Regions from separate parts of the Homo sapiens genome. Here region 1 is linked to region 2. Evidence: promoter capture Hi-C in 16 types of primary human blood cells and fetal thymus (Javierre and others, 2016). All regions are on one chromosome and are shown on one strand. The core of a region is centred on a gene start or on the middle of the fragment in contact, and the rest is flanking DNA. Distances in the headings are between cores, read along the strand shown. Region 1 overlaps LINC01116 (long intergenic non-protein coding RNA 1116). Region 2 holds the start of HOXD1 (homeobox D1).

Region 1 (4,264 bases), core at 1,589-4,088, 430 kb after region 2:
GAAAGGGCTTTAATTGGCTCATGTTTCTGCAGGCTGTACAAGCATGGCACCAGCATCTGCTAGGCTTCTGGTGAAGGCCTCAGGAATCTTCCAATCATGGTAGAAGGAGAAGTGGAAGCAGGCACGTCACATGGTGAGAGCTAGAGCAAGAAAGAGAGACGGGGAGGTCCTAGACTTTTAAACAACCAGATGTCTCATGAATTAACTGGGTGGGAACTCACTTATCATCAAGGGGATGATGCAAAACCATTCATGAGGGATCCGCCTCCATGGTCCAGTCACCCCCAACACTGGCAATCAATATCAACATGAGATTTGGAGGGGACAAACATCCAAACTGTATCACACAGGAAGAGAATATTCAAGGAAGAGAATGTTTCCTGGCTTTAACATCTGTCTTAATTATTTTATTTTCTAATATTGGAAAAGACACTATAAAGTATTTTTCTTATATTTCTCCCTTGACTAATTCCTACATGTCCTTCAAGACAGCTCCACATCACCGCCACTTGGAAGCCATGCCTCACTACCACATCCCTCCATTCCTGGCTGTCTGGTGGCATGAAGCTGGCTGGGTTAGGTGCTCCTGTTCTGTGCTACTCTAGCCATATTATAATCTTGTCTCATTATAATCTACTTGTCTCTTAAACCCATTTCCTATAAATTCCTATGGTAAAAGTCTCTGTCTAAATTTCTCTTATGTAGCACAGTACCTGGAAACATTTCACAAACAATCATTTGTTGAATGATTGCTTAAATGAAGAACAAATAAATAAAAATAATTATTGGCTGGGCATGGTGACTTTTGCCTATAATCCCAGCAATTTGGGAGGCCAAGGTGGAAGGATCACTTAAGACCAGAAGTTCAAGACCAGCCTGTGCAACATAGAGAGAGTCCCTCTCTACAAAAAACAAACAAACAAACAAAAGTTAAAAGAATTAGCTGGGTATAGTGATGCATGCCTGTAGTCCCAGTTACTCTGGAGGCTGAGGCAGAAGGATGGCTTGAGCCCAGGAGTCTCAGGCTGCAGTGAGCTATGATCATGCCACTGCACTCCAGCCTGGTTGACAGAGCAAGCCTCTGTCTCTAAAAATAGTAATAATACTGCTTTAGTTGACATTGTTATTTCAGAATTATAAATTACAGTAGTTTACTTTTTTTTTTTTTTTTGAGACAGGGTCTCACTCTGTCATCCAGGCTGGAGTGCAGTGGCATGCTCACGGCTCACTGCAGCCTTGACCTCCAGGGCTCAGTTGATCCTCCCACCTCAGCCTCCCAGGTAGCTGGGACTACAGGTGTGTGCCACCATGCCCAGCTAATTTTTTGTATTTTTAGTTTTTGTAGAGATAGTGTTTCATCATGTTGCCCAGGTTGGTCTTCAACTCCTAGTCTCAAGTGATCTTCTCACCTTGGCCTCCCAAAGTGTTGGGGTTACAGGCTTGAGCCACTGTGCTTGGCCAGTAAGTTTGCATTTAATTGACACTATACAAAAGTTATGTTAGTTTATTCTCATAAATGTATTTGAAAGAAAATCCTTCATCATTTTATTAATCACAATTCTTTGTAATTACTCTCCCTCAACTCAGGAGTGCTGTGAAAATGATATTGATGACTAGAAATTGCTATGTGAAAAATATAAAGTAAAAATGTATTTGTATTTGTATATCACAAATCAACCAAACCGATGGTAGAGAGGTTAGTGGTGATACATATGAAGCATTTGCTGGGAATTGAGAAGGTGCCTATTATAAAATTAATGCGTTTGTGTCATATAATTTACTGACCAAACCCAGAGACTCTGAGAGTTAATGGTAGTGCTGTAATATTTATTCTGGGACAAAAAGCATAAATAGGACTGTCAGGAACAAATCAGGACATATGGGCACCTCGTTACATTAAATGAGAACCGTTTCTTATGCAGGTAACCCACAGTATAGAAGTAATGGATGGGCTGTCCTCACAGGTTTATAGGAAGAAAGGGACCCTCATCCTTAATGGAAGTCCCACGAGTTAGAACCAGCAGTTACAAGATTCTGTCTTTTCTACTGGCCACTCTGTCTCGGGTGGATGAAACCTTTCAGCAGTCCCCTTCCCGATGGAGCAACTGACGAGCCCTGTGAGTGGAAGCTCTATCACTTTGCCCATCAGCTCACAAACTCAGAAAACTGCTTGGATGGATCTGTTCTGTCGGGTGTGGGGAGAGTCCTTCCTTGATCAATGCTTAATGAGCCAACTCTGTCATCTTCCTTTCTGTGCCCTCCATCAGAGAGGTTGGAAAGAGGGAGGAGCTATAGAGCTGCAGCTTACTAAAGCCACTAGCCTCTGTCATTGTTCTGTTTGTTCCTCCTCGCCTTGGGAAAAAACTCAAAGCTATATCATCTTGATAAGAGCTTTCTATTAAAAACCAGTGCATACATTATTATTATCTCTTGAGAGATGAAGAAATGGAGGCTCAGAGACATTAAGAGATTTGCCCAGAGGGAGTATCATGGTGGAGACTTCCGAGGCCCGGGCTGGGGCATTTTCCACCGTAACACAGTGCTACATGGAAACACCTCATAAAGACTGCATTGCTTTAATTTAATTTACAATATAAGCTTGAGTGTTTCCAAAGAAATCAAATGTGATGTTCACGCTTTGTTTCCTACAGCGGTGGTTACCCTGTATCATTCCGTAGGCTTGCTGTCCTTGGGCAAATGTGACGCTGCACACCTAATAATCACAGCCAGTCTAGCGGAGGCCTGTGCTGCCGGAGAGCTCCGTGGATGCCGACCAGCATTATTTAAGTTTTCATTCAAAATCTCCTTTAGGGTGACTTCTGTGCACCTGAACTTCCCGTTCAAGAAGATCAACAAATGGCTGAAGACAGATTTTTCAGCCAGAGGAAAGAATTATTACCTTACCATCAGTCTAATGAAAACAGAGGTGAAATACCAACCTGCAGTAGATAAACAGCACACCGAGCCATCCATCACATTCAGCCTTACTGAGCAGAACACCCTAACCGATTTCGCCTGATTTTCCTGCGCCTCTTGCAGACAGGCATTCACAATATCAGAGAGCTGAGACATTTTCCAGCAAGCTTTCGTCAGAATAAAAACCTGATCAGGAATCCTTGAAGCCATCCCGTCTCCCAATCTAAATTCCCCTTTCTCTCTAGCTATGAACACCAATAGCTTATTAAAGACTTGCTTCTCACTCGCAAGCTCTGCCAAGCTGGCATTCCCTTCCAGGAGCTGGTTTCTATTATTATTGGATCTACACAGCACCTCCAACGACAACTCTCTTTTTCAGAACCTTCTAGTTGATAATTAGCATATCCATTCATTCAGCAGAAATACCTGCCCATTACTAGGCACTCCGGGTATAGAGATACAAGGCCCCTGTCTTCCAGGAGCTGAAAGTCAAAGGAAAAAGGCATCTTGCCTATCTATAGACCTTTTCTTTCATTTTTCACATATATCATCACTCATTTTGCCTTAGCAATGGTGAATCAAAGACAGCAATGCACATGTTGTTAACAATGGCCGTTGAGGAACATGTTTGAAGGGCTCTAACACATTATAAATTGTGCTAATGTCTGTTGATCTTTGCAATAAGGAATCATAATAGAAACAACAAAACTATGAAATAGATTTGTGGAATGCTTATGATGTGAAAGGCGCTAATCATATTTTGTTTAATACTTATGGAAATCCCACAAGATCGTAGTATCCCCAATACACAAATGAAGAAATGGAGCCCAGCCTGAGAGTATACATCTAGTGAGTAGCAAAGCCACTATTTGGACCCAGGTATTTTTCAGGGTATTCAGAGATGGTCATACTGTATCTGGTTAATTCACAAGAAACTAATAAGTAAAAGAAAATTTTCACTATCCATAGTGGAGGATATCCCTTTCTGGGGTCCAGAATACCTTGCTCCTATCCATGGAACACCTTCCTCATATCACATTTTTAATCAGAAATCTGCAAAGGGAGAGCGAATAGTATCAGAGGATGTTCCATACAGACTACGGTAAGGACAGATGAGATGACACTTCAAGTCATACACACATGTGTACACACACAAACACACATACATGCACACGGACATGATCTCTGGTGACTGGAGTGATTCCCCCTTTCACTTCCATCACCATCTCTCTAGGACAATTCTACACAAGTCACAAAACTCTGCCTATATGATTACTTATTTTGTGTTCCAGTGCAGATCATCCAAGGTGAGCTTTTGTCCTTAGCCTGGGATAGGCCATATTCCCAG
Region 2 (4,894 bases), core at 1,759-4,258:
TTTTATTTTTATTTTTTTTAGTAGAGATGGGGTTTCACCGTGTTAGCCGGGCTGGTCTTGATCTCCTGACCTCGTGATCCACCCATCTCAGCCTCCCAATGTGCTGGGATTACAGGTGTGAGCAACCGTGCCCAGCCAGAATGTAGTTTTCTGTATGCGATTATCAAAGAAATGCTATTGGGTCTGAACAAATATTGAACACCTCTCCCTCGCTCTCACCCACAGTTGTGAAAACAAAACAAAACAAAACAGTATTTTTAAAAACTTCATTCTTTTTTAGGGCACTTTCTTCCCTCAGAAAGGCTAAATCTCCAAAATTTTACTTGATGGAGCTAGTGTGGATAGCTCATGGGTGCATTAAAGTCAAGGCCTAATTATATCATGAAGGACCCAGCCTTTGCCCCAAATGCCCAGGAGGAAAAACTTAGTCTTTGTTGCCATGAAAGCTGCCAGGACACCTAGGCAGCCTGATTTTTCTGAAACCTTAGAGAAAAGGCCCTTAATTTGAGGGGTTTTGGTCAGACTTGCCGGACAGTCAGGCTGACTCTTCTGCCCTAAACCCTGGGTTGCAGCCGGCTGGATGTCTTCCCCAAAGAGGTTTACAAAGTCATCCTTCCTTCTTGACCCATGGGGCCTCTAGGCTTTGGAGTTGTGATAGGATAAGTATCATTTGAGGGAACACTGTGAGAGCTGGGACATCTTGCAGATAAAAACTGGCTATTAAAATCTAGCCAGAGGTGGAGGAGGGGGCATTGTGAACTCAGCAGCATCTTATTTGCTGTTACTTTTGCATAAATGGCACAGGAGAGCAGTGAAGAAACGTGTCTACATTTTAAGGCTGAGCTAGCTCTGAAGAGCTCTAACATTTCCTAACTGGGGTGTTAGGGAAGAACTTTTATTTTTCTCTTCTTAAAAATTATTTAGGGCCGGGCGCGGTGGCTCACGCCTGTAATCCCAGCACTTTGGGAGGCCGAGGCGGGCGGATCACGAGGTCAGGAGATCGAAACCATCCTGGCTAACACGGTGAAACCCCGTCTCTACTAAAAATACAAAAAATTAGCCGGGCATAGTGGTGGGCGCCTGTAGTACCAGCTACTCGGGAGGCCGAGGCAGAAGAATGGCGTGAATCGGGGAGGCTGAGCTTGCAGTGAGCCGAGATCGCGCCACTGCACTTAAAAAAAAAAATTAAATAAATAAATAAATAAAAATTATTTAGGACCTTATCTGACTGGCTATAGCACAACTGAAATAGCAAAATCAAGATTGAAGGGCTATTTTCAGCACAGGTATTCCATTTCCAATCAAACTCAAGAACTCCAGCAGTGCAGGAACCACAGACCTCTTTAACTTTGTGCTGATTCCTAGGCATCCACCCTCTACTGGCTCCCCTCAACCTGGGGACATCCCTCCCCCATCCTGCAGCAACTTCGGGTCCATCAGTAGTCCACATTTTGGTAGGGCTTTGTTTATTCACAAGTCCACAACCCTGGAAGGAACTGGCTCCCTGGGCTGTGATGGCGCCTATTCTAAAGACTTCCTCAGAGTGGAAATTTAGGCAACAACAGCTCAATCGCTCTTTTATGACAAGTCAATCAGTAAAACAATGATAAAACCTCGGTTACCATAACTTAGAGGCTGTAATAGATTAACTTTTCAAGGGCACTTGATATAAGCTCTGAGTAGACTCTTTAGAGTCTTTATTCACACAGGGTTTTAGGAAACCACCCTCTTTCATAACTACTGTGTGTAAATAACCTCTATTTATCTAATTTGTAATTTTCCTACAGTCCCCTCAAAAGGGAACATTAAAAGAAATACTAAAGGAAGTTGGAAAGTTTGTCAATGTAAAGCTGGTCTTTGTAACCTTTCTACTCTTCATTTCCTGTGGCAATTGCACTTTTATTTCCCGTCTCTCTACACTCAGTAAACAAAACCATATTATCAAGGGAAAGACGTGAGCCCATTAACATTGTGAGCCCTCAGATTTCACTCACAAGAGACGATGCAGCACTTATCTGATGGAGCAGAAGCTCTAATTGCTTCGAGGTACAAGTCCATCTAAACCTCTGAGATCTCACCCGTCCCCGGTAAGCCCTTGCGCCCTCCAGACAAGCTCCTCAGTGAAAGCAAGCGCCGCACCGGTGCCTGTGCCAGTCTCCCAGAAAGGAGCATAAGGAGTGTTCCACCACCACTCTGGATTCTTTATTCCAACAACCCAGCCGGAGGGGAAAATCTGCTAAACCACCCCACAAGGCAGAAACTTTATCAAAATCTGGCACTACAACACTGGCCCTCATCACGCCGCCACAAATTGCGAGGGATAGAAGAAAGCTGCAAAGTCACGTTAAAAGGAAGCCTAGTCAAAAAGTGAAAATTTTGTCCCGCCCTAGGCACACAGCACTCACAGCATAAGATGTAGTTCCATGAGTCCTAGGAAAGGGGGAAGAAAGGAAAAAACCAAACATCTGCTCTAGGTTTAGAAGAGGGATAACATCAGCGCCAAGCAAACCGAAAGCGCAGAGGACTCAGAAGAGGGGAAGAGGAATAACTTTATCTGTCCTGGAGGTGGGCGAAGAGCAGTCTCCACCGGCCGCGCGTCACGCTCCCATTTAACCTTTTCCATGCCGCGACGCCCACACTCCGCCCTCGAGGGACTAGCCCCCCCCACGATCCAGAGCAGAAGCGGCTCGCCCCGCTGCATCCACGGGCCCTCACCCAAGCGTCCAGTCCTGCCTTTCTCCCCCCACCTCGCCCAATACCTGTCCGAGAGCAGGCGTTCTGCCCTCTCGCCCCGCCCTTGCCCAGGCAGCCCCCGGTCGCGACGGCTCTCCTCGGGGCTCGGGGGCGCTGGGCGGCGGCCCTGGGCTGCTTTGGCTAACTTGGCTGCGGGGCAGGCGCGAGGAGCGGCGCGCCGACCGGGCCGAGCGGAGAGGCCGCCCATTGGCCGGCCAGCGCCACGTGGCCGCCCCCGCCGGTATATTAGGCCACTATTTACCTCCGGCTCACTCGCCATGGGTTGGAGAGGGCAGCTCGGGTAGAGAGGGCTGGCGGAGCGGCGCAGACGGCGGCAGTCCTGCTCAGCCTCTGCCCGGCTCCGTACTCCGGCCCCGGCCTGCGCCCTCAGAAAGGTGGGGCCCGAACCATGAGCTCCTACCTGGAGTACGTGTCATGCAGCAGCAGCGGCGGGGTCGGCGGCGACGTGCTCAGCTTGGCACCCAAGTTCTGCCGCTCCGACGCCCGGCCCGTGGCTCTGCAGCCCGCCTTCCCTCTGGGCAACGGCGACGGCGCCTTCGTCAGCTGTCTGCCCCTGGCCGCCGCCCGACCCTCGCCTTCGCCCCCGGCCGCCCCCGCGCGGCCGTCCGTACCGCCTCCGGCCGCGCCCCAGTACGCGCAGTGCACCCTGGAGGGGGCCTACGAACCTGGTGCCGCACCTGCCGCGGCAGCTGGGGGCGCGGACTACGGCTTCCTGGGGTCCGGGCCGGCGTACGACTTCCCGGGCGTGCTGGGGCGGGCGGCCGACGACGGCGGGTCTCACGTCCACTACGCCACCTCGGCCGTCTTCTCGGGCGGCGGCTCTTTCCTCCTCAGCGGCCAGGTGGATTACGCGGCCTTCGGCGAACCCGGCCCTTTTCCGGCTTGTCTCAAAGCGTCAGCCGACGGCCACCCTGGTGCTTTCCAGACCGCATCCCCGGCCCCAGGCACCTACCCCAAGTCCGTCTCTCCCGCCTCCGGCCTCCCTGCCGCCTTCAGCACGTTCGAGTGGATGAAAGTGAAGAGGAATGCCTCTAAGAAAGGTAAGTCCGCGGGCCTTGGATGGGGCCACCTGGGGTTGGGGACGGAGCCTCCCCCGCGGAAATGCGCTGGGAGCGTGGTGTCGCTGCCTTTCCAGACAGCGGTTTGGGTTTTGTGGAGGAGACGCGTTCCCGGGCGAATTCCATGGAGTCTGCCTCGAGTACAGATTCGGAAAATGTGCCAGGCATTGAGAAAATTTCAGGAAGGAGCTCTCCGTGGAACTTCTCCTGGTACAAATTCTGTTCCTAGGGACCCAGGAGGGCTGCGCTGGGACTTTGATTCTAACTAGCTCCACTGCTCACCCACATTCTGTCCCCGGCCTCAGGCCTGGCTGACGCCCTGTCTTTACGTTGCAGGCAAACTCGCCGAGTATGGGGCCGCTAGCCCCTCCAGCGCGATCCGCACGAATTTCAGCACCAAGCAACTGACAGAACTGGAAAAAGAGTTTCATTTCAATAAGTACTTAACTCGAGCCCGGCGCATCGAGATAGCCAACTGCTTGCACCTGAATGACACGCAAGTCAAAATCTGGTTCCAGAACCGCAGGATGAAACAGAAGAAAAGGGAACGAGAAGGGCTTCTGGCCACGGCCATTCCTGTGGCTCCCCTCCAACTTCCCCTCTCTGGAACAACCCCCACTAAGTTTATCAAGAACCCCGGCAGCCCTTCTCAGTCCCAAGAGCCTTCGTGAGGCCGGTACTTGGGGCCGAAAAACTGTGGCCTGCAGAAGTCCCAGGCGACCCCCATCCCTATCTAGACTTAGGAGCTCAGTTTGGGATGGAGGTGGGAGAACAAAAATGAATAGGGATTTCACTTGGGAAATGAAGTACTTTAGTTGGCTTCCGAGTTCCAGACTATATGTCCAGATATTAATTGACTGTCTTGTAAGCCACTTGTTTGGTTATGATTTGTGTCTTATCAGGGAAAAGGTGCCCAGCTGCCAGCCCAGCTCCGCTGCTATCTTTGCCTCACTTAGTCATGTGCAATTCGCGTTGCAGAGTGGCAGACCATTAGTTGCTGAGTTCTGTCAGCACTCTGATGTGCTCAGAAGAGCACCTGCCCAAAGTTTTTCTGGTTTTAATTTAAAGGACAAGGCTACATA

The links. The method cuts DNA at HindIII sites, captures the fragments that hold promoters and counts their contacts. A CHiCAGO score of 5 or more calls a contact.
Region 1: a fragment that was not itself captured here is called in contact with the fragment with the promoter of HOXD1 in region 2 in 1 of 17 cell types (fetal thymus); the score reaches 5.1 in fetal thymus.

What each region holds. Positions count from the first base shown.
Region 1 is chr2:176,616,486-176,620,749 of GRCh38, forward strand. All of the region lies in intron 4 of LINC01116 (long intergenic non-protein coding RNA 1116), which reads right to left. Among named protein-coding and RNA genes, the nearest start is that of MIR1246, 18 kb to the left of the region's middle. The HindIII fragment of the contact is 485 bases long and covers 2,597-3,081 here.
Region 2 is chr2:176,185,660-176,190,553 of GRCh38, forward strand. It overlaps HOXD1 (homeobox D1), which reads left to right and starts at 3,009. Exons shown (of 2, transcript NM_024501.3): 1 at 3,009-3,794; 2 at 4,149-4,894. The coding sequence starts at 3,143. The coding sequence ends at 4,483. It overlaps HAGLR (HOXD antisense growth-associated long non-coding RNA), which reads right to left and starts at 3,299. Exons shown (of 3, transcript NR_033979.2): 1 at 3,155-3,299. MIR7704 (microRNA 7704) reads left to right here and starts at 3,184; the gene lies at 3,184-3,242. The HindIII fragment of the contact is 11,390 bases long and covers 1-4,894 here.